7 separate regions of the Homo sapiens genome follow, and all the other regions are linked to region 2. Evidence: promoter capture Hi-C in 16 types of primary human blood cells and fetal thymus (Javierre and others, 2016). All regions are on one chromosome and are shown on one strand. Each heading gives the region's core, a stretch centred on a gene start or on the middle of the fragment in contact. The rest is flanking DNA. Distances are from core to core; before and after follow the strand shown. Region 1 overlaps TSNAX-DISC1 (TSNAX-DISC1 readthrough (NMD candidate)). Region 2 holds the start of GNPAT (glyceronephosphate O-acyltransferase). Region 3 overlaps C1orf198 (chromosome 1 open reading frame 198). Region 4 holds the start of LOC124904547 (a long non-coding RNA gene). Region 5 has its middle 21 kb from the start of CAPN9-AS1. Region 6 overlaps CAPN9 (calpain 9). Region 7 overlaps TSNAX-DISC1 (TSNAX-DISC1 readthrough (NMD candidate)).

What was found. Contacts are between HindIII fragments. The CHiCAGO score rates a contact against its expected background, and 5 or more counts as called.
Region 1: a contact is called between a fragment that was not itself captured here and the fragment with the promoter of GNPAT in region 2, in 1 of 17 cell types (neutrophils). The highest score is 5.7, in neutrophils.
Region 3: a fragment that was not itself captured here is called in contact with the fragment with the promoter of GNPAT in region 2 in 3 of 17 cell types (non-activated CD4 T cells, endothelial precursors and erythroblasts); the score reaches 6.1 in non-activated CD4 T cells.
Region 4: a fragment that was not itself captured here is called in contact with the fragment with the promoter of GNPAT in region 2 in 1 of 17 cell types (non-activated CD4 T cells); the score reaches 5.1 in non-activated CD4 T cells.
Region 5: a fragment that was not itself captured here is called in contact with the fragment with the promoter of GNPAT in region 2 in 1 of 17 cell types (erythroblasts); the score reaches 6.5 in erythroblasts.
Region 6: a fragment that was not itself captured here is called in contact with the fragment with the promoter of GNPAT in region 2 in 1 of 17 cell types (erythroblasts); the score reaches 5.1 in erythroblasts.
Region 7: a fragment that was not itself captured here is called in contact with the fragment with the promoter of GNPAT in region 2 in 3 of 17 cell types (non-activated CD4 T cells, naive CD4 T cells and activated CD4 T cells); the score reaches 6.1 in non-activated CD4 T cells.

Annotation. Positions count from the first base shown.
Region 1 is chr1:231,578,396-231,581,585 of GRCh38, reverse strand. All of the region lies in intron 4 of TSNAX-DISC1 (TSNAX-DISC1 readthrough (NMD candidate)), which reads right to left. Among named protein-coding and RNA genes, the nearest start is that of LINC00582, 32 kb to the left of the region's middle. The HindIII fragment of the contact is 2,180 bases long and covers 536-2,715 here.
Region 2 is chr1:231,239,308-231,242,656 of GRCh38, reverse strand. GNPAT (glyceronephosphate O-acyltransferase) reads right to left here and starts at 1,445. Exons shown (of 16, transcript NM_014236.4): 1 at 1,201-1,445. The coding sequence starts at 1,278. It overlaps FSAF1 (40S small subunit processome assembly factor 1), which reads left to right and starts at 1,482. Exons shown (of 7, transcript NM_152379.4): 1 at 1,482-1,633. The coding sequence starts at 1,516. RefSeq lists enhancers at 543-1,432, 1,413-1,752. The HindIII fragment of the contact is 8,993 bases long and covers 1-3,349 here.
Region 3 is chr1:230,852,802-230,856,150 of GRCh38, reverse strand. C1orf198 (chromosome 1 open reading frame 198) reads left to right here. Exons shown (of 4, transcript NM_032800.3): 2 at 433-483. Among named protein-coding and RNA genes, the nearest start is that of C1orf198, 14 kb to the left of the region's middle. RefSeq lists an enhancer at 1-909. The HindIII fragment of the contact is 1,354 bases long and covers 1,017-2,370 here.
Region 4 is chr1:230,887,186-230,890,545 of GRCh38, reverse strand. It overlaps LOC124904547 (a long non-coding RNA gene), which reads left to right and starts at 66. Exons shown (of 3, transcript XR_007066938.1): 1 at 66-818; 2 at 918-1,049. It overlaps LOC105373167 (a long non-coding RNA gene), which reads right to left and starts at 1,146. Exons shown (of 4, transcript XR_949264.3): 1 at 914-1,146. RefSeq lists a silencer at 1,793-1,967. The HindIII fragment of the contact is 1,382 bases long and covers 1,128-2,509 here.
Region 5 is chr1:230,814,517-230,817,759 of GRCh38, reverse strand. No RefSeq gene overlaps it. Among named protein-coding and RNA genes, the nearest start is that of CAPN9-AS1, 21 kb to the right of the region's middle. The HindIII fragment of the contact is 2,373 bases long and covers 539-2,911 here.
Region 6 is chr1:230,794,887-230,798,504 of GRCh38, reverse strand. It overlaps CAPN9 (calpain 9), which reads right to left. Exons shown (of 20, transcript NM_006615.3): 18 at 3,226-3,342; 19 at 285-343. CAPN9-AS1 (CAPN9 antisense RNA 1) reads left to right here and starts at 3,294. Exons shown (of 2, transcript XR_001738518.2): 1 at 3,294-3,392. The HindIII fragment of the contact is 4,089 bases long and covers 1-3,618 here.
Region 7 is chr1:231,615,580-231,618,990 of GRCh38, reverse strand. It overlaps TSNAX-DISC1 (TSNAX-DISC1 readthrough (NMD candidate)), which reads right to left. Exons shown (of 16, transcript NR_028393.1): 5 at 2,085-2,347. Among named protein-coding and RNA genes, the nearest start is that of LINC00582, 5.2 kb to the right of the region's middle. RefSeq lists a silencer at 842-1,042. The HindIII fragment of the contact is 279 bases long and covers 1,947-2,225 here.

The DNA.
Region 1 (3,190 bases), core at 376-2,875, 340 kb before region 2:
TTTATTATCAGTTATGCAGAGGCTTTAAAACTGTTGCAAGACCATACAGTATATATTAGCTTTTATACTGCCAATGCACAACTAACAGCTATAAAGTATTACTGATAAAAAATTAAGATTACCTAAGGAAAAAAACAGAAAATTATTTAGTGTGGCCATCTTACATGCTTAGGTCTCCTACACAAAGCTAAATATTCTAGCAGTGATGTAATGAAAAATTACATCTTACTGTTGATATATGTATGCTCTGGGACACAGATGTCATTTTGTTGTCACAGCACTACAGTGAAATACACAAAAAATGAAATTCATATAATGACTTAAATGTATTATATGTTAGAATTGACAACATAAACTAATTTTGCTTTGAAATGATGTATGCTTCAGTAAAATCATATTCAAATTAAAAAAAAATCCAACAGTCTTTCATGATAAAATGCTCAACTAACTAGGACCGGAAGGGAACTTCCTCAACCTGATAAAGGGTATCTATGAAAAACCCACAGATAACATCATAATTAAAAGACTAAAAGCTTTCTCCCTAAGATCAGGAACAAGACAAGGATGCCTGCTTTTGCCACTTCTGTTCAACATTGTACTGGAGGTTCTAGACAGAGCAATTAGGTTAGAGACAAAAATAAAAGGCATCAAGATTGGAAAGGAAGTAAAGCTATCTGTATTTGCAGATGACATGATTTTGTATGTAGTAAACCCTAAGGAATCTGCTTTAAAAAAAAAAAACTATTAGAATAGGCCAGGGGTGGTAGCTTACGCCTGTAATTCCAGGACTTTGGGAGGCCAAGGCAGGTGGATCACTTGAGGTCAGGAGTTCGAGACCAGCCTCGCCAAAATGGTGAAACTCTGTTTCTACTAAAAATACAAAAATAAGCTGGGTGTGGTGGCGTATGCCTGCAGTCCCAGCTACTTGGTGGGGCTGAGGCACGAGAATTGCTTGAATCAGGGAGGCGGAGGTTGCAGTGAGCCAAGATATCACCACTCCACTTCAGCCTGGGTAACGGAGTGAGACTCTGTCTCAAAAAAACACAAACAACAACAACAACAACAAAACTAGGCTGGGCACGGCGGCTCACGCCTGTAATCCCAGCACTTTGGGAGGCTGAGACTGGCAGATCACCTGAGGTTGGGAGTTCAAGACCAGCCTGACCAACATGGAGAAACCCCGTCTCTACTAAAAATACAAAAATTAGCCGGGCATGGTGGCACATGCCTGTAATCCCAGCTACTTGGGAGGCTGAGGCAGGAGAATCACTTGAACCTGGGAGGTGGAGGTTGCAGTGAGCCGAAATTGTGCCATTGCACTCCAGCCTGGGCAACAAGAGTGAGACTCCATCTCAAAAACAAACAAACAAACAAAAAACTATTAAAATAAACAAGAACACTGCCCATGAATGTTCACAGCATTATTCATAAGAGCCAAAAAAGTGGAAACAACCCAAATGTCCATCAACTGATGAATGAATAAAGAAAATGTGGTGTATCCATATGACAGAATATTACTCGGCAATAAAAAGAAATGAAGCACTGATACTCGCTGCAACATGGATGAACCTTGAAAACGTGCTAATTGAAAGAAGCATGCTAGTTGAAACATGCTCACTGAAAGAAACATGCTAGGCCGGGCACGGTGGCTCACGCCTGTAATCCCAGCACTTTGGGAGGCCGAGACGGGTGGATCACGAGGTCAGGAGATTGAGACCATCCTGGCTAACACGGTGAAACCCTGTCTCTACTAAAAAATAAAAAAACATTAGCCGGGCGCCGTGGTGGGCAGCTGTAGTCCCAGCTACTCGGAAGGCTGAGGCAGGAGAATGGCAGGAACCCAGTAATTGAAAGAATGGAATTTTATGATTCCATTACATGAAATGTCCATAACAGGCAAATATGTACATATAGAAAGTCGATTAGTTGTTGCCTAAGGCCACGGGGGTGGGGGGCGGTTAAGGGTAATTGAGAGTGGCAGGTAATGGATACTGGTGTCCAAATTTTGGTGGCATCAAAATTTCTCTATAAAAAGGACAACATACTCTCAACCATAGACCAGGAGAAGCTATCAGTAAAGAACTACAAAAAGGAGAGAAGGGGGAAAGAGCAGTTTGGAGAAAGACAATCTAATAGAAAAATGTCAAGAATATAAGGGCAAGTAATATATAGACAAAATCTGGGTGGCAAAAGTTTTCATTGTAAAGATATTCACTATTAGATTAAACCTCATTAAATTGCCAATACTTGATAGTTTTAGCTCACAAAAATGCGATCTCATATAGGTAAAATTAGTAGCAGTAGGAAAATTAAAAATTAAGCGATACTGTCAGCCAAATGTGGTGGCTCGAGTCCATAATTCCAACACTTTGGGAGGCCAAGGCGGGAGGATCACTTGACGTCACGAGTTCAAGACTAGCCTGGGCAACATGGTGAGACTTCATCTCTATAAAAAATAAGAAAATTAGCCAGGCACAGTGGCCTGTGCCTATAGTCCCAGCTACTAGGTAGGTAGAGGCAGGAGGATGGCTTGAGCCCAGGAGTCTGAGACTGCAGTGAGCTATGATCACACCACTGCGCTCCAGCCTGGGCAACAGAGCGAGACCCTGTTTCCCAAAAAAAAAAAAAAAACCATTAAAAATCCATTAGATTGACCATCAGGACTCACAAAATTATGTGGAAACATAAACTATTAGACAGTTGTAGAAGAAAGCTTAGATTGGTAAAAGCACTTTGGCAATATCTAATAAAGTGGAACATACGTATACCCCTAAGACCAAGCAACTTCACTCCTTCATAATCTTCCTAGAGAAATTCTTACATAGGTACACAAGGAGATAAGCCAAAGATATTGTATTACCCAGAGTTCTCCAGAGAAACAGAACCAGAACCAATAGAGAGAGAGAGAGAGAGAGAGAGAGAGAGAGTGTGTGTGTGTGTGTGTGTGTGTGTGTGTGTGTTTAATTATAAGGAATTGGCTCACAGGATTACAGAGGTTGAGAAGTCCCAAGATAGGCAGGTGGCAGGCTGGAGACCCAGGAGAACCATTGTTCAAGTCCAAAGGCCTGAGAACCAGAATAGCTGATGTTATTAATACTAAAAGCCACGAGGCTCCAGACCCAGGAGCTGATGTTTCAGTCTGAGTTTTTTTGTTTGTTTGTTTTTTGAGGCAGAGTTTTGCTCTTGTTGC
Region 2 (3,349 bases), core at 196-2,695:
TCTGCACAGCAACCCTCTTCCCTTCGTGCCTGCTCTGGAGTAGCAGAGTCAGAAAACAAAGTTGATATCCACCACAGAACTGTGGGGAAGATAAGATCAATGAAGAGATATATCTAAATAATAAGGCTTATAGGCAGTTAGCAATCAGAAACCGAAAGGTCTTGATAGAGAGGGAACAGAAGTTTCTCCATGTTCCAAAGAATATTGGTGTCTCAATTTGAAGGAACCCATATATTCTCTTTCAAAACTGGGGTGTTTATCTTGCTCTGCTGTGTTATCCCTGTTTTGACCTTTCTGCACAAATGAACACTACATTTAAGCCAAAATTGGACAGTAATCACCAGGATATGCTAATATGCTTTTAAAATGAATTCTTTCATTTTCTCCTAAAGTAGCTAAAAACTAATTTAGTGGTTAAAAACAACAAGAAACAAACAAAAACCAAACCAGTTGCCCCAGGTCTGTGCAATCCTGAAGGCTATAAAGCTCCCATCTCATAATTTCTTCATGAAAATCGTGGGTGACCAACATCTGCCAGCCAAAAAGACCCGTTAAAACCAAGAGAGGAAGAGGGGGTTGGAGGAAAAAAAGACAAGCGGGAGAGAAGCTGGGTGGCGCTGGCTGTCCTCCAAAATGATTTGTGGAAAAGGTACAATAATGACTGGAAGACAAGAACAGGCAATAAAAATGTCTAGAAGTTCTAAATTTTCCTGAAGTGTTTAAAACTCTATTCCCACATACAAGCCAAGTGCTCTACTCCCAGGAATATAACAGCAGCATAGGGCGGGGTGCGGAGCCACAGGCTATCTCAGGGCGGGTCAAACCCGCAAGTTTCTCAGGTTTGCCCAAAAGGTAGCTCGACATGCCCTCGCTAGAGATGGGGAGACTCCAATTCTCATTCCTCATTCTCGTGTCCAGGAGCTTTCTGAAGGCCCCAGGGCCTGATAGAAAGAAAGAGAAGGAAAAAGTGGAAAGGAACCAAAGGAACCATAATCCGTAGAAACTTCCAAAAGCATGCACACACAGACACACAGCGATACACTGTTGTCCTGGAAACCAATCCAACCAACTAACCCCTCCTCGGGAGCCTAGGGGCCAGCTCTTTTGGGCAAGGGTGGTGGGCCGGAGGAATAGGGACTGGGAGAAAGGGGTACTATTTCGCGCGGCTCCGCTCTGGGCCTCTTTTCCCTGGGCGCCTACCGAGTAGAGGAGCACGACAGCGCTGGGACTGGTTGGGCCAACGGAGAAATAAGAGTTAGATGAACTGGAAGACTCCATGGTGCGGCTGCCTTCCCGGGCGGGGTCTGGGATTCTTTGCTAAGCCGTGGTGGTGCTCCTGCTGGGGGCGGTTCTTTCGCTCAGGACGGCCCTACTTCGCCTAGGGCGGCGGCACCCTCTGCAGCCGCTACACAGGATCCCGGGCGCCGCCATCTCAGCCAGGACGGAAGCCGCGCAGGGCCCTGCAGCGCATGCGCGCAGTCGCGGAACCCGGAAGCGGGGGTGCAGCGCGGCAGAATGAGGGTTGATTCCTCGGCTGACCCCACAATGTCGCAGGAGCAAGGGCCGGGGTCCTCCACGCCTCCCAGTTCTCCGACACTTCTTGACGCTCTGCTCCAGAACCTTTACGACTTTGGTGAGTGCGGGGTCCCAGGAGCCCACGTGGAGAACAGATTTGAGGAACGTGGGTCTCCTGTGTTGCCCGTCCTGGGTTGGCCTCTGCTTTGAGGCTAAAGGTTCTTGCATGTCAAGCACCCTTCGTCCCACCTGGTTCCAGTAGCGAACACATTTCTCCATCGGAAGTCACCCCTCGACCGGGCTCTGCTGAGTTATTCATCAAACCTTCCAACTCGTCCCCAAGTGTGGGGACCATCCTACTTGCTTGTAGGAAGCACCAAGGCTTTCCGATTTAAAAGTAGCCCGCTTTTCCACGTTTTCTTGAGCCCTGGGAAGTCCCCTTTCCCCATGCCACCCCCAAGACCTGCCTGACCCTGGTGCGATGGTGTCATTTCGCTCTGGGGCCTCGGGCCTGTTGGATAATACACCAGCTTCATCCTTGTGTGTCCCTCTCCAGAGACATCATAGTCCTTGGCGAGTTGTCCTTTTCACGACTTTTTTTTTTTTAAACAAGTGCGCTGATCTTTTACTCTCCGTTCTTTGTCTTGATGGGGGAAAAGGAAAATAAAAGAGCCTATTAAAGTCGCATGGCATGTCAGTAGGAAGACAGTGCCTCATACTCTGAAGAGCTTTCCCGGGAGAAGGTGACACCCTTTGCACATGCACCAAAGAAAATCATTAGATTTCAGGACAACACACATTTCTTAAATTTACAGCGTGATATTTTAAAAGCTATTTTTATTTTGGAATGACTGCTCAAAATTCTAAGTTCACCTAAACAGTAGGAATAATAGTTAAAACTGTTGAGAACTTGCCATATAGCACATGCTTTTCGTGTATTTGCTCATTTAATTTTCAACTTCATGAAATAGACACTGTCATAAATCCATGATTGCAGATGTAGAAACAAGTACTAGAAGTTCATGAAACCTGATGCAGGTTGTCTGACTGGTAATTTTTGCAGAGCCTGGGTTCTGATTCTAGCCCCAGACCCCATGCTTGTATTAACTAGCATTTCTGTGCCCTTGGACATATTGGAGGACAGAGAAGACTTAGTCTCTGACCTTGAGAAGTTTAAAATCTAGAGGAAAAGACTATTCTGCAAAATAATATAGTTCATGTCAACACAGGCTGGAAATCATGGTAGGAGCTCTGAAGGCATTGAATGTGTCTATTCATTTTTATATCCTTAATGCCAAAGTTTAGTTGGCTCTTAAATGTTTATTGTATAAAAGATTAAGCAAATAGTAGCAAGCATAAATCAGCAGCTGGTAATTTAGAGAGCTCTGTGGTATTTGTAATACATGTGAGTAAGGATGCCTAGGATTCTGGTTAGAACTTTCAGGTGACTGGTCAGAGCTTCAACAAGTGAAATATAGAAAGAGGAATTAATAGAAAACAAAGGCATTCAAATTGAGCCAGTTGTCTTAGGTTCATCTTAATTCCTAACTGTGAAAGAAAATAGGAAGACTATTCCATGTTCCTGTAACCCAGAAAGTGTTAAAAAGAAACAGTGGCTGCAGTGCCTGATATTTTTAGTATAAAGCCAATTGGGATTACCAGCCCTGGGGACTATTGCTGTGATGACACTTTGAGTAGGAACCAAAGTGGAGACTAAAGTGATTGTGCTAATAAGGGTCAAAGACATAGTTACCTAGGAAAAGATGACTACATTTTGGATTCTCTGCATTTTGCAAATACACTTATTTGAAAGAAAACAAATAGTTTATTTCTT
Region 3 (3,349 bases), core at 444-2,943, 390 kb after region 2:
TGCAAGGGAAGTATCATTTTGCTTTTACAAATGAGAAAACTGAGGCTCAAAAAGGCTGAGTCATCTTCCCATGGCCACACAGCTAATCATTGTTCAGGGCTGAGTCTGTGCCTGATTCTGCTGAGACCATCAAGCCCTCATCCACTCCTACTCATCTCATCTGTCTGAGTCCATTGGGGGGCCTCACCGGCATTCCCTGTTGTCTGTTTGGCTGGGGAGGGGAGTGTCTGGCAGCCTCAGCGGGAAAGATGAGGGAGCAATCTGATCAAGACGGTCAGCGCATTATATTGAGAGTGTCAAAGCATCAGGCTTGTTTAGAGCCAGGAGTTGGGATTATTCCTAAGTTTTGGTTCCCCCACGGTCCTGGGTGGATATTTGCATGGGGTATGTCTGGGTTTGAATTTCAGACTTATTCTCGATTTTTTATTTCAGGATCTAACTTGGCAAGATGAGCACTCTGCCCCTTTCTCCTGGGAAACAAAGGTAAGTTGGATTAAATTTAGATCTATTTGTTCTTTTAAAAAGAACTGAGTAGTTGTATATTTTTCTTTCAGCATTTGATGGACTCAGAAGACAGCCCCCTGACTGCCAGGCTGCAGGGGATGTGTCCATTGTTGGTAGAAAAGGAGGGGATGGGAGGAGCATGGTGAGGAATTAGGAAACTATTGTGTGTGGTTTGGTGATAGTGAGTTCAAAGTAGTAGTGCTTTCTGCCAGGGTCCAATGACGCCCCATGATGCCCATTGTCTAGGACTCCCGGCCAGCTTGGTTAAGGGGGCCAGCCCTCTTGGGGGCCCTGTCTCTGCTCATACCTCTGGTTCCCAGCACTTAGCACCTTGATGGGAGATGCCCCATAAGACAAAGCTTTGAGCAAATGGGAGGTGACGAGCTGATTGATAGACATAGACATCCATTTAGCTAATTCATCCCAACGTGGATCACTAATTCTGTCTCCCAGTCATTCTTCTTCTCATCATTATCATCATCATCACCAGAGTTGCTTAAGAGCATCAAGCTTCACTGATTTTAATTCATTTTCCCCATCTCCTAAGTTGCCCCAGTAGAAGTACATTCATAAGCAAAATGACTAAAAGACAGGTGTCTTTAACCCAAGGGACAGAAATAAAAGACCAAGATTTTCTGAATTCTGGAACATTTGGTGATGTGTGTTGGAGGGTTCTTTACGTCATGAGAGTGTGTTACAGACAGAGACGGTGGTGAGCCTGGAATAGGGCTCGGACTGCTGGGCAGATCAGGGTTTTTAAATACTGATACCTCAAGGCACTTGTTTTTTGGTTTTTCACTTGTCCACATCATTGCTGATCAGAGCCCTCATCCCAGCAGGAGACCTATGAGGAGGGTGGGCCAGAGTGGTTCATGAAGGACCCTGAGAGGCCCTCATGTTGGCGACTGTGTCTTAAAATGAAATATTGCCCAAGGGTTCAGATGGACACAAGGACAGCTGACACTGTTCTTGGCACACAGACAGTATTTAGTAAGCTATTGCCGATTGCCCTGGGTGAAGTGAGCTGGCCTCAGGGCGTGGGAGCGTGGGACAATTGAGATGAGTGTTAGAGTTAAGAGGTGGTTTTGGGGAAGGCATGGCATTAATGTAGTCTCCCTAGGGATCGGGTACGGGTTGCAGGGGTGACCAGCACTGTCTTGGGAGAGAGCACAAGATGTTAAGGAGCCGCCTGCAATTGGAATAGCTTCTAAATCCAACACTGGATCCTGTGTCTACTGACATTGCAAAGGAAGTCATAAGTGGGTAAAAAGTGCATCATTACATTGATTCTTAGCCAGGGCCCTCAATATTCCTCTTCTATGGGCTCCCAAAATGGGTAATTGTGAGAAGTACTAATCCTATAGATGATATCTAGTGGTAATAGCCAGATAGATTCTCTGTGTGTTGGAAATGAGCAGCCTTGGGTATGGTGACCCAGAAAGCAGTGCAGATTTTCCTGGACTGGGTCTATATTTGAAGATATCATAGTGATAAAGGCAAAGGAAAGTAAAAAATAGTTAAAGTGTCCTAAGACCTAAGCTCATCATGTTCCCCACGAGAACATCTGTTCTCTTAAGAATTTAGCTTGTTAAATGTTCCTGAATCAGCTATTTGTGGGACAGGACATTTCATCTTTTATTAACTTGGCATAAATGACATTCTGGGACAAGGTGGTGCAGCTCCTGGAGTGGCCACTGATACAAGCACAGCTGCTGGGGCCAGAGTGGGAAACAGGTGCCTGGCGAAGATCTCGAGAAAAAAGAGAGCAAGTACAGTCCACTTGAATCACACTTGTGCTGAGAGGCTCATTGTCCACAGATGCCAGCATATCTGGTCCCTTAGGAACCAGTGTAAGTTGAGGAAGCTTGCTAAAATCTGGTTAATATGTGTCACCCATCAGAAATTGCATCCTTTTAGTAAAGTGTAGTCTTCATAGCTCAGAGTTGGCAGTTTCATTTCATACTCCTGTTAGATTAGAGTTCCAGTTTGTTTCACAAACTGTTGGGCTCACTCTGTGTCCTCACCTTCCTGTTTGATCTCTCGAGGTCAGACTTACTATAGTTTACTATTAGAAACGTCTAGGGGCAAAATAGAGCGTATCTCAGAGAGCAAGGGAGCTGTCCCTTCCTCCTTCTTCACTAGGCAGTGCCGAGTTTTAAAAAGCCCATCACTCATTCCTCCTTTGTCTTAACCCTGGAGTGCCCTGCCATCCTGCTTGAAGAGATTTGCCAAACTCTTCTTAGGACTTAAAGGCTTATAAGATCTTCATTGGAGAGCCACAAACAGGAGGTGGCTTTAGTGAAGGTAGGACCCCCTAATCTCCAATTGCAGGACTGGAGGGAGACTTGGACCCCATTTCTTGTTACCTCTCAACTGATGCCTTCCTCACTCTATCAGTTCTCTATAGATGCATAACAAACTTAATGGCTTGAAGCAGCATTTTATGTGCTCATGATTGTGTGGGTCAATGATCGGAGCAGGGCTCAGCTGGACTGTTCTTCCGTTGGCCTTGCCTGGGATCACTTATGTGTCATCTGATCGCCTGATGGGAGCTGGGTGCTCTGAGAACCTTGCTCACGTGTCTGGTTGGTGCTGGCTGTTAGCTGGGCCACATGTCTCCAGCAAGCCAGCCTGGACTTCTTCACACAGAGGTGGAGAGATCCGTGTGCGGGAACGGAAGCCTACGAGGACTCTTTTGAAGCTTAGGCTGGGCAATTGCATAGTATCACTTCTGCTCTGTTCTGCTGGTCAAATCAAGGCACAAGCTGGGCCAGATTCAATGTTTGAGGAAAGAGATTGCACCTCTTGATAGAAGAGCTGCAGAGAGTTTGCACCCATTTTAAAT
Region 4 (3,360 bases), core at 569-3,068, 350 kb after region 2:
CACCACACCTGGCAAATACTTTATAATTTCTGAAGCCAACATATAAACAAATACAATAAAGGTTACCTAAATAAGTGCTTCTTTTTAGAAATAGCTTGGAGAAAATCATTCAATACCTCTTATTTATAGTTTTGTAATGTTCTTTTTAAATGCTTCTTACAATATCTTGAAAGTTAAGATCTTTCAAGGAAAGATTTTGAAAAGTGTCCTGGCCTGAAGTCTTCATGTTTTAGAAATCAAGTTTTTAAAACATCTTAAAAAGCTGTGTCTTTAGTACTGGGTGCAAAATTTAAACATTGCCTGCAATTCCGGAATAACAATAATCCTAACGATAGATATGATTGAAAAAGTTGGCCAGGTTCAAAAGAGAAACTTCTTCGGGGGAAAATGGCCATCCCATCGTTCTACATCAACCGCCGGTTTTTCTTTAGGGTGAAGTGAGAGGCTTGAGGGCAGGGAAGCATCCAAAGGGAATTTCTCAGTTGGTAATTTCCTAGCAGAGAGGTTGAGTTAGGTGCTTCTTCCTCGATATGGTTCGGATCTGTGACCCAGTCCAAATCTCATGTTGAGTTGTAACCCCCAGGGTTGGAGGTGGGTGGGGTCTGGTGAGCGGTGATTGGATCGTGGGGACCGTTTCCCATGGTCTAGCACCACCCTGCCTTGTTACTGACATCCGGTTGTTTGAAGATGCACGGCCCCCACACCCCCTTTCCTCTGCTTGCTACGGGTCTGGCCATGTGAAGTGCCTGCTCCCGCTTCACCTTCCATTACTTTCCTGAGGCCTTCCCAGCCATGCTTCCTGGGCAGCCTGCAGAACTGTGAGCCAATTCAACCTCTTTTCTTTATAAATTACCCAGACTCAGGCGTTTCTTTATAGCCTTTCGAGAATGGACTAATAAATACATCCCCTTACTTAGCCAGCACTTGAAGTTTCAAAAACGAGGATCAAGCCGTTCCTGGGAGCATCCTATGAGACATTTGGACACAGGTTTACTTGGAGTCTCGGAGATATGACGGAATCTGGAAAAGTCAAAGGAAAAAAAGCCAAGGTGAATCAGATAATTATGTTATTAAATCTCAGGAGAGATGACTAGTGTGTCAACACCAGGGCAGAGCTTCTAGAAGCTTCTAGAAGCCTTTCCCACCAGCTACCATCAGTTTCACTCAAACTGTTACCCACTCCCACGTCTACTGGTAGTGGAACCTGCTCTGGCGCTGCCTTCCACTCATTTCTACCTTAACCTCTGATCTGACCCCTCCCCACCCTCTGTCCATGGACCTAGCCTTCCCCTGGCTTCTGCTCTTTTCTGTCTGCTTTCTTGTTGACGTTTTTTTTTTTTTTTTTTGCTTCCCTGCTCTGGATTGCTTGATCTCAGGCTCGATTCGGAAAGAAGTGATACGTAATAAGACAAAGTGATAATGATTTTAAAAGAGCTATATCAAAGTTGCTGTGGGAAAGCCAAAAGGACCCAATTATTTCCACCTGAGGTGGATAGCTGTGCGGCAGTTATGTATGCGGCGGCTATGCCGAGGAGGTGTGGAGAGTATGGGACCGCAGAGGCGGAGTAGAAATGTGCCAGGTAGCCAAGGACCTTCCCAGCAGAGGCAAAGTTGGGAGGAAATGTTCAGAGAGATGAACGTGCCTAGTGTGCTTGGGATGGCTTGCAGATGCAGCTGGAAAGGAAGTGAGGGGCAGAGGGGCGGGTCTTGCCATCATCCTCAGGAATTTGGACTTCATTCTCTGTATGTAGACTGTAAAGCATGGGAATGATTTGACTAGAATTAGAAAGATCATTTGCCATCAACACCAAGGATGGCTTAAAAGAGGGCAGGTTTTGCTCCTGCCCCTGACGTGGTTCCTCTCTGCAGCCTTAGCCCTCTCATGCCTCAGTCCCATCCTTAACTGCGACCACATTCCGTGGTTGTCCTGGGTCTCTCTCTCTCTTTTTTTTTTTTGAGACAGAGTCTCGCTCTTGTTGCCCAGGCTGGAGTGCAGTGGCGTGATCTCGGCTGACTGCAAACTCCACCTCCCGGGTTCAAGTAATTCTCCTGCCTCAGCCTCCCAAGTAGCTGGGATTACAGGCTCCCGCCATCATGCCCCGCTAATTTTTTGTATTTTTAGCAGAGACGGGGTTTTACCATGTTGGCCTGGATGGTCTCAAACTCCTGACCTCAGGTGATCCACCCTCCTCGGCCTCCCAAAGTGCTGGGATTACAGGCGTGAGCCACCGCACCCGGCCAGGTCTCTCTTGTTTTAGTTCTTTCACTGACTGTATCTGTTCTCGTGGTTTCAACCATCATCTCTGCACCATTTCTAGTGCTAGCTTCCCTGCCAACTCTAGTCTTGCATTTCCAGTTGGCTACAAATCCTCTGTACCTGCATGGATCATCAGCCCCTCAAACTCAAATTGTGTGCAGCCAGACTCTTCAAATCCTTCCCCCAGAAATCAGTTCTTCCTCCTGACTCATTTCTGCTCCTTGTTTCACCATTCTCCAAGTTATCCAAGCTTAAAACTGGACAGCGGTGACCTCTTCCTTTTCTTTGACTCTTATCTTTAACCCATGCCCAAGCTCTGTCGAGTATTTCTTTGTGATATCTGACACCTGTATGTTCCCAGACCTACAACCACCATCCTACTTGAGACCTGTTCTTTCTTGTATAGAAGCAACAGCCTCTTACCTGGTCTCCTGTCTCTGGTAGCTCTCCTGGGTCATCCTATTTTGGTACAGTTTCTAAAAAACTGTTCTGATTATATAGTGCCATGTATAAGGTAATATTGAGCATAATGAAAATTACCCTTAAAAATCTCTTAAGGAAGGCTGGGCATGGTGGCTCATGCCTATAATCCCAGCATTTTGGGAGGCCAAGGTGGGCTGATCACTTGAGGTCAGGAGTTCAGGACCAGCCTGGCCAACATGGTGAAACCCCGTCTCTACTAAAAATACAACAACGACAACAAAAAGAAATCAGCTGGATGTGGTGGCACATGCTTGTAATCCCAGCTACTTGGGAGGCTGATGCAGGAGAGTCGCTTGAACCCAGGAGGTGGAGGCTGCAGTGAGCTGAGATCGTGCTATTGCACTCCAGCCTGGGAGACAGAGTGAGACTCTGTCTCAAAAAAAAAGAAAAAAAAAAGAAAGAAAAATCTCTTAAGAAGATGCTATATTAAAATCTAACAAACTATGTCTCCAGAAACCCCACAACAACAGAACGCATTTCGTAGCTGAGCACGGTGTCATGCACCTGTAGTCTGCGCTGCTCAGGAGGCTGAGGTGGGAGGACAGCTTGAGGTCAGGAGTTCCAGGCTGTAGTTCGCTATGTTTCGACCTATGAATAGCCACTGTGCTCCAGCATGGACA
Region 5 (3,243 bases), core at 476-2,975, 430 kb after region 2:
TAAGGATCACAGCAGTGGTGTTCTGCAGCTGGGGAGAGAGACTGGGCTCAACTCTGAATACAACAAGGAAAAGTGAGAATTTATAGCCAAGGAGTAGAGTGGAGGGAGAGGTCACTGGATGGAAAATTAGTAAGAGGAAGCATTAGGGCTGAGGGGGATTCTGGCTAAACCAACCCAACAGGATTCTTGCTGAAGGCAGGCCAGGGTGATCAGACATCACCTGGCAAATGGTGGAAGACGAGGAACCTGATCAGATATCGATGGCGATCAGATATTGAGTGTGGACAATCTAGTTAAACTGACTTAGCAGGGTTCTTGCTAAAACTGGACAATGCAGACATGAACATGGAAGTCCGAAAGTTGTGTCCATTTAAAAATTTATGTTTGCAAGAGCTTCCAGAACCATGTTGTAAAAATCATAGACAAACATGAAACCGGGAAGCTTTCAAAACCCAGGATTCAGAGAACACTGACAACTCTTTGCAGGAGGTTGCAAATTCAACCTCAGAGATGTCTGGAAAAATATTCTACTCAAGCTTGGTCTTGATTTCCAAAGATCTACAAATCTAGTGAAGTTCTTGCTGAAGTGAAAATAGCCACCAGCCAACTGAAGCTAGAGGTTGAAGCAAAGGAAGTTTGAAGGCTGATGGCTCCTCAGTCTCAGAAACCACCCTGTGATGAGCACACCCACCAGTGATGAACACGCCCACCTTCATGAACAAAGGGAGGCGTGAGCTCTCTGGACAGTCCTGATCAAGGGGCCATGATAAGAAGTCAAAGGCATGAGAAAACAGTGATAGTGATTTTTAAGGAAATGGATTTCAATTTAAAAGTAATCAGAACAAAGTTACAGTTTTAGTTGTACAGAAAAATTGAACAGCAAGCAGAGACGGGTCTCATATATCCCATTTTCCCCCTCTCTTCCTCCACAGTTTCTCCTATCACTAACACACACACACTCATGCAAGCGCGCGCACACACACACACACACACACACACACATATTAACACTGATGTGGTATATTTATTGCAATTGATGAACCAATATTGACACATTACTATCAACTGAAATCCATCATTTACATTTGAGTTCACTCTTTGTGTTGTACAGTTCCAAAAGAACCTTCTGATTTTTGTGGAAAAATGCAGAAGTTAATTTAGAGAAAAAAAACTTTATAGTTAGAAAAAATGGCTAAGGTGATTGACTACTCATTAATCTGAATTACATATTCTTTAGAAAGATTTATTCTGTGCAGCGTGTAAGTATAAAATTTGCATTACCTCTGGTCTTTCCTATAAGAGTTGTATCAAGAATTTCATCATTACAATTAATTGCATGCATATATACTTTTCTATGGGAAATAACTTTTTACTAAAAACACATTACATGTTACCTCTAGACAACCTATAGTCATGGCACAAATTGCATCTTTGCTTTCTCAGATTCCAAAAGTCTTTGTGTAACCACTGTCCTCAGCAATTGTCACCATTACTTGGCCCAGTGCCATTGTGCAAGGGAAGGAAGGTTTTGTCTTGGCTCAGTGGTAGAAGGACTAACACACTCTCTTCCCACATGGAGACATACTAGAGAGGATATTCTGGCCTCCCTGCAGCCTCAAGTTCTCTCTTCCCTGGGTGAATAGCTACTCCACAGATCTGTATCTACATGGAGAGGTCATGCATGTGTTCTATGCACTTTCAGCACCACCTAGGTACAGAGTTTGTCAGTCTTAGGTGCTAACCTCTCAGCTCCACACTCACCCACATATACTCTGCACTGTAGCACTGAGGCTGGTTCTATGCAAAACCCATTTCTGTTTTATAGCTGCTCTTTGTGAGGCCATGACAGTAAGAGGCTTAAAAGGAGACTGAGAGGCTTGAGGAGGAAGAGGAGACTTGCTCCTTCTTGTCTGCCTTCTGTCCACTTACTGTTGCTATGAGCATCACCCTGAATTCTCCACCCCAGCAGCAGTAGAAACTTCCTATAGCTGCAGCAAAAGCCAGTTTGCAGTTTTTCTAACCCTTGTAGAGCCAGCCTAAAGGCACTCTCTTCAGAGCTGCCACATTGCCCTCAGGACTAACCCATTCTCCACAATCCAGATTTAAGCAGCACTTCGGAGGAGTTTGCCCAGTAATGTATACATCTGATTCTTTGTTCAGCATCTGGCTATTGCTATTTGTGCATTGACTCCACTGGTCAGAACCAAAGACAGCAGGAGAGGTAAGTGCAGCCAAATTCATCTAGCCTCACAGTGACCTTCCTATAATCCATACTGCCAAGTGAGGTATCTGCAAACTACAGATACTTTGCCAACTGGCTTACTGTTAGGTACCGTGAATAGGAGAGAGGGCCTGGGAGAAAATCAGAACACAGAAAGAAGAGAGAATCTTCTATTTCTGGTTTGACAGTGGGGTAGTTTCTGGCAGTTGTAACACCAGCAAGAACAGGGTAACACCTGAGCAAAAGTAAGATTGATCTAGACTCTTGGATCCTGGACAAAGGTAGTATCTTTTTGACAATTTCCAATCTCTGTGGCACCTTCAACCATGCAGCAGTACAAACTCAGGAGCACCACTCTCTTTTGTGTATGGAACAGACATGAATATTACAGGGGGGAGGGAGCCTGAGGGTGAACTGTGTAAGGCCTACTAATGGCCCCCTAAATTATTCATGCCCTAATCCCACTGTGAGTGCATTATGTTATCTGGAAAAAAGGGATTTTGATATGTAATTAAGGTTATAGACCTTAAAATAGGCAGATTTTCTGAATTTCTGAATTTTCCGGGTGAGTCCAGTTGTGGGGAAAATGAAAACTACTAAAATGCTGCTGTGGTCCCACCTAACAAAACTTAAAAGCAAGGCTCAAAAGGATCAAACTAATTTCAAATAACTGTGTCCCTGAACAAAGCTTGATGATATTTATAGGAATACAAAATATCCAGCAACCATTGTCTGGCATTCAATCACAAATCACCAGTCATGCAAACAAGCAGGAAAACACAACCCATAATGAAGGGGAAAATCAGTCAGTTGAAACTGACCCAGAACTGACACAGACAATATATTTAGTAGACAAAGACATGAAAATGGTTATTACAACTGTATTCCATGTGTTCAAGAAGCTAGAAAAAAGATTGAACGTGTTAAGTTAAGAAATGGAAGAGATAGGCTTGTGTGGTGGCTCATGCCTATAATCCCTCCCTTTGGGAGGCCGAGGCAGGTGGATCACCTGAGGTCAGGAG
Region 6 (3,618 bases), core at 380-2,879, 440 kb after region 2:
AGTCTGCTCACTCACTCAAGTCAAGGTGATTAATCTCTCTATGCCTCAGTTTCCACCCTGCAAAATGGGGATACTATTGGTACTTAGCTCACAGAATTATTGTAATGGCTTAATTGATTACTTGATAAATAGTATCTCAAAAATATTAGCTATTTTGTTATAATCACTCCCACAGCTAGATGTCAGCCCTTGCATGAAATCAAGCATTCGGCAAACATCTATGCAGCGTGGACTCTGCTGGGCCCCAGCTGGGTCCCTGAGCAGAGGGTCTGGATTGGCCATACCTCATTTATATTGAGATGAATGAACTCCTTGTTCTTTGTACTGAGAGCCTGGAACACCCCTGATAGGAGAGAAGGGGGAAAGGCATCCTTTTAAAGACAATTCCTTTACCAAGTTTGTTTCCCAGCGACCAAAGGGCCTTCCAGTGGAGCCTGTGGGGAAGCTGCTCCATCTGGTGGTAAACAAGGACTTTCATCAAGGGCGGCGATGGGACTCTCATCAAGGGCGGGCTGAAGGTGAACTTCTCTGAACGGATGGAGGCATCCAGTCCTGTAGCAAGCCAGTGGTCACCTAAGCCAGTCAGCCGGCCAGCAGCTCCTGGAGCCAAAGCAACGCCCCTATCTTAACCTTCTGGGGGGTACAGGGCCCTTGAAATCCATAGGCCCCAGAAAAAAAGCACACGCACGTAAAGTTTTGCATGAATCTGAAAGTTGTTAGTCTCGCCCTTGTAGGAAGGTGCCGTGGGTGCTGTCAGAGGACAGAGTGGCACAGGAGAGCGTGCCAGCACTGAGCTGGGGGCTGGGTCTACCGCATGGTGTAGTGACCTGAGTGCACCTGAGCAAGTCACTGCCCTCTTGGGGCCTCAGCCTCCTCACCTTCAGAAGACGAGGTCGAGCCAATCAGCCCTGGCTTCACTTGAGAATCTCTCGGGTAGCTTTAATAATACAACCCAAAGCGGGGTGGGGGACCATCACTGGACACAAGAAATGGAAGAGACCCAACAACCAAACATGGTGACTGGGTCTTGTGTGGATCCTGAGTCAACCAAGCAACTGTAAAAAGGTGGCCTGGAAGACTTGGGCATGAACCGGGCACTAGAGAATGTTGAGGGTTTGCTGAGAATTTCGTTAGGTGTGCAAATGGTATGAAGATGATGCTAAAAACAAGTCTATCAGCTGGAGATACTCAGATGAATGGACAGAGTTTCTGAGATCTGCTATTAAATTATTTAGGGGGAAAATGTATGTGTTGCGGGAGCACAAGGGAAAAGTTAGCAAGATGGTAATTGTTGAGGTTGGGTGTAAAGGTCTGGAAACACCTGGCGAATTTGCGTAACTCCCAATGCTGTGTGCCACCCCTGAGATTCTAACAGAATTGGTCAACTGTGCAGCCTGGTCATCAGCATTTCTTTAGGCACCCCTGGAGATTGTAATGTACAGCGAAGTTTGAGAAGTGCTGATGTGGAGTGCATGGGAACCTATTATGATTCTTTATATCTAACTGGAGGGTTGACATTCTTACAATAAAAAGTTAAAATAATACTGCAGCAAAGCTCCATCCTTGGTAATTCTAAAAGTTCTCCAGGCAAATCTAATGTGAGGATGCCAGAGTGGATGGTGTTAAGCCTAAAGGGTCTTCACCCTAATATTCCTCTACTATAAGAAAAGCTGAGGCACTCCCACCCCCCGTTCTGGGAAGGATTACACCTGGGTGGTTTAGAAAGGGAAAGAGCAATGGAGAGAAGAGAAACTAGCAAATCTCATTATTTCTAGGGTCAGCTCTGACCACCCTGTAAGTCTAATAACGGATTCTGTTTCAGGAGGGGTCTTTCTAGAATGCACCTCTCACTAGCTACCAGTAACCCCTTAGGGAAAGCCGGCTTCCTGGCTTGATATACTAGACCCTTTGGGGCCTGCTGGTCTGTCTCTGATTTTCTCTCATCATTCCTTAATCAACACATACTCATTGATTGTCCAGAAATTACGGCTCTCCTGGAGCTTAGAGTCTAGAGGGGCTGTGCTTCAGGCAAGTAATTAGTGTTCTATTACCAAAGAAGCAGAGGGAGCTATCATGCTGATAACCAAGGGTCACAGCCCTCACCTTTTTATTTTAATTTAATTTAATTTTATTATTTATTTATTTATTTATTTATTTATTTATTTATTTATTTATATTTTTGAGATGGAGTCTCCCACTGTTGCCCAGGCTGGAGTGCAGTGGCAAACCTCAGCTCACTGCAACCTCCACCTCCCAGGTTCAAGGGGTTCTCCTGCCTCAGCCTCCCGAGTAGCTGGGATTACAGGTGCATACCACCACATTTGACTAATTTTTTGTATTTTTAGTAGAGACAAAGTTTCGCTATGAGCTGGTCTCGAGCTCCTGACCTCACGATCCAACTGCCTCAACCTCCCAAAGTGCTGGGATTACAGGCGTGAGCCACTGTGCCCAGCCCCCTGCCTTTTTTTTTTTTTTAATCAAGTATTCATACCTCGAAGTGGCCTATGGAACATAGATTAGAAAATACCAAGCAGGACAAAATGGAAATGCGGGGCCCCCTGCTCCTAAGTTGTGAAGACTTTCAAGATGGAAACGCCAGAACATTAAACCAAGCACGAGGCACCCTTGAGGGCACGGGTCCTTTGGCACCTGCACACAGGGCATGTCCTCATAGCCACTCCAGTACTGAGTTACAGGCCCTGGACATGCTTCACTCAGCCTCACCTTCAAAACCACCTTTGAGGGGCAGGATGGCTATGACAATAAACTGCAAACACTGAAGCGCACGGGCACATAATCCCTCTCTATTTGTGGTGTAACAAATCTTATTTGAGATAACTGGGTCAATGTCTAGGGCTTACAGGGCGGGGAAGGGGGGAGGAAGGGGGACTGAGACTCTCCTGTTTCTATATGCTATGATGGGATTTGACCTGCAATTGAACCTTTCCTCAAACACAAGGCACAAACCTGCCCCAGCCCATCATCCTCCCACAGAGGCACTGTGAATGTATAAAGAAAGGCGATGCTAAGAAACGTGCTGCAGGGGAGGCTGGCACATTCTGCTCCTTAGCTAACCGCACAGGCCCATGGGTCCACACACATCAGACCATGGCTCTCTGTGGTCTATCTTTGCCATTACTTTAACCAGGCTGTTTCTCATGCGCTCATGGAGGGTGACTGAAGATGCCACCCCGAGGTGCACCCTCAGCCTCGCTGGACACTTACGGCTCGCATTCTCCAGCCGGACCAGGCAGTTGAGGAAGTCATCGAAGTCCAGCTGGAGCTCCTCATCCGCATACCTGAGCACAATCAGCTGCAGGAGGTGGCTGCTCAGCTGAAAGCCTGTGGGGACAAAGGAGGAGACCCAGGACTCGCTGTATCCGAGCCCCGAGGTGAGTCTGCACCTTTGAGGGAGCTCCCAGGCAGCTGAGGAGAGGGCTCAGAAGAGGAAGCCACTGTTTCACTCCTCAAAGCTGGGGTCCCCAGACCCAGTGGGACTGCTGCCCTTGGTGTGAATGCAGCGTGAGAGTGTGAATCTGTGGTGCAGGGGCGAGTGTGCGGGGGACTCTCAGGCGTGCTTTCTGTGTTTAATGGCTTCTGAGTTTAGCGAGTTTGTGA
Region 7 (3,411 bases), core at 837-3,336, 380 kb before region 2:
CTCCCGCTCTAGACCTGTGATCCCGAGATGCCTGCAACTTGTGGTCATCTTTACCTCCCAGTGATTAGCCTCCGCTAGAGATGTGATACTCAAAATGCGTTTACATGGTCAAACAGCCAAAGCCATTAAGGAAGGGTACATTAATTTTACTCTGCCTAAAGACCTACCACTCAATGGTTTAAACCTGTTTCTGCCAGTTTACCACATGTAATATAGGAACAGCTAATCCCCCTGACTCAGAATCTCTCCAGTCAGAGATTTATTCACAATTCAATAGTTCACTGTGGGAGGACTGCTCCTCCCCTGGCTGCTCGGTTTTGAATAAGTAGACTTTGTTCTCTATCCGTGTCTACATTTACTCCAACTTCCACCGAGGAAGAGACACTCGCCCCCCTCTCACTGTTTATCACCTCGGCCATATCACCTATCATTCCTAGGTGATAGGCACCAGCCCTCTCTTTCCATCTTTCACATTGATTGTCACATGTGACCCTTGACACGTAACACTTTGTTACTCTCACAGCTCTCATATACAGGGGGACAACATGAGTGGCCATAATAATAGGTGGCAACCTTATTATCATTAGAAAGCTCAGCAATTTCAAGCCTCTTTTTCTGATTTTTAATCTTCTGGCCAACCTCTCTTCATTGGTTTTCTGACCCAATCCTCTCACAGCTGATTTTTATGTTGTCTGATCAGTATAAATTCCTGGCTTGTGTCTTCTTAATGAGAGAGAGGGGACCTCCCTGTCCCCCAAAACTGATGCACATTGCAACCATCAGAAGCTTTTAAATGCCCCAATTCAACAGCCATATTAGAAGATCTCAGGAGGCTCTGCAGGCAGTTTCAAAGACAGCGTCTGTAAGTGGACCACTGTCCAAAGTCAGGAGTTCATCTCATTAATGAAGTGCTTGACGTTAAGCCACTCACCTTTTTCCCATCTCGTCCATGTTCCTCATGTGTTACACAGTGAGTAAAGTAATCGTGTGCTTTAATCTTCTCTTGCAGATGCTGTTAATGGTGAGGTCTCTGTAAGGCTATTCCAGGGGAAGAAAGGTTCATGCCATTCAGCTAATTTGAAATTTGAATTCAAGAATTGATTAGGGGTTCTTTCTCCAATTAAATGTGTGTGTTTGGGGATACATCACTTAATTTTCTAGCTTCCTTCTTTGAAAACAAAGGGGAAACCAGATGAGTGGCTTTTAAACTTTTGTTTCATGGCTGGTTGCTAAAAATTTAAGAAAAAACAAGAAGGTGAGATATATAATGACACTAACATTTTATTTTGCCAAGTAAATTTACTTTTTTTTTTTTTTAAGATAGAGTTTTGCTCTTTTTTGCCCAGGCTGGAGTGCAATGGCTCAATCTCGGCTCACTGCAACCTCTACCTCCTGAGTTCAAGCAATTTTCCTGCTTCAGCCTCCCGAGTAGCTGGGACTACAGGCACACGCCACCATCCCCAGCTAATTTTGTATTTTTAGTAGAGACAGGGTTTCACCATGTTGGCCAGGCTGGTCTTGAACTCCTGACCTCGGGTGATCTGCCTGCCTGAGCCTCCCAAAGCGCTGGGATTACAGGCGTGAGCCACCGCACCCAGCCATACATTTCTTTAAAAAAAAAAAACTTCTACCAACTACCATCGCCACTATTTCATATAGAAAAGCCTTCTTTTAACCTCAAAAAAATAATACATATGTGATAGAAGCTAGGACAGTTCCTTAAAAACAGTGAATTTTGCTTTCTCAAAAGCTCATTTATCCTGGTTTTTCCTTTCTTTTTTATTTTGTCCTGGCTGGTGAAACTTCCATAGTAGGTAGAACCAGTCCCCAGCTGTGGTCTTAGGGACCAAGTAATGAGACAGCCCCTGAGCTGAGGAAGCCAGAGAACTTCTCTTTTCGGTGTGATGCAGAGTTTGCAAAAATAAGCTCATGAATATTATTAAGCTTTATGTTATGAGAATGTTTACCCGTTTTCAAGTATAAACCTGTTTGTAAGATTTTGAATTTCAGATTTGGCCTTTCAGAGGACAAAACTGGAACATAGGCATAAGAACTAAACTACCAGTAGCCACAGAGGCACTCACCAAATATTTCTGAGTTGCTGGCATCCAGACACATAGTGGGAATGCCTTCCCAACCTCTCTGAAGCTGAGGATGGCCATGTGACTGGCTTTGGTCAGGGAAATGTGAGCAGAGGAGATATGCTTCCCATCTGGGCGGAAGCTTTAGAAGCCAGTGCTTGATTCATCACTCTTTTTCTGCCTCTATAGTATAAAAGTCTTCAGATGGAGCTTCTGTCAGCCTTGATCCCAAGAGCCTCTGTGAGTAGGATCTTGCCTGTAAACTTCTATAAAACATAAAACATGAACAAGAGAAAAGGAAGCATACATTGAATTAAGCTACTGAGACGTAGGTATCTTTGTTGCCACCGGATAACCTATCTCATCTTGATTAGTCTACCAAAGTTCTCTCAGTTCTGAAAGCCTGTACATGAATGGCCACACGATGTCTCAGATCGTAAGTTGTGGAACTGGAGCTGCTTTCACCAACAATACTGTCGTCAACAGCACTCACGTTCTTCAATCATGCTGCCTCCCCCAAATCCTAACTAAAGTGGTTCTAATATTGAGCAAGGCATTATTCCAGAAATGAAATCCAAGGCTTGGCAATAGTCAGAGCACATGAGGGCAGGATCATGACAACATGGGGAAGAGAAGATTTCACATGGTAGAGCACTCCTTGGGGGATTTCCTTGCTCTAGGTTGGAATCAGAAGGTTAAAAGACTTCCAATCTGGTTTCAAAATGTTTTATGGGACTTAAAGAAATCTTAAAGGGGAAGAGGAGACTTTTCTTTCATTCATCAGGCATCTGGGACTATGGATACAATGGCTGGAGCTCTAGACGCCATCTTGAACCTTGAAGACAAAGCCACAGCTTAGTAATGGCAAAGCAGATAACTGGAATTAGTCTGGTTCCATGACAACTTTGTGGGGTTGCCATATCCCTGCTGGATTGCCTTCCTTTAGATTTCCTTTATGGGACAGAGAAAAATTGTTACCTTGTTTATGCCACCATTAGTTGTTTTTTCTTATATGAAGCCAAGCCTAAATCTAACATTATATACCATTTTTTTTTCATTATTTGAAAGATACTGTTTATCTCATTCTTTTAAAAATTTTTGGCTTTTTGGATTTTTACAATTTAAAATAATGTATATAATTTATTTTAAAAGAAATATGAGGGCTGGGCATGGTGGCTCATGCCTGTAATCTCAGCACTTTGGGAGGCCGAGGTGGGTGGATCACCTGAGGTCCAGAGTTCGAGACCAGCCTGGCCAACATAGTGAAACCCCGTCTCTACTAAAAATACAAAAATTAGCTGGACGTGGTGGCAGACACCTGTAATCCCAG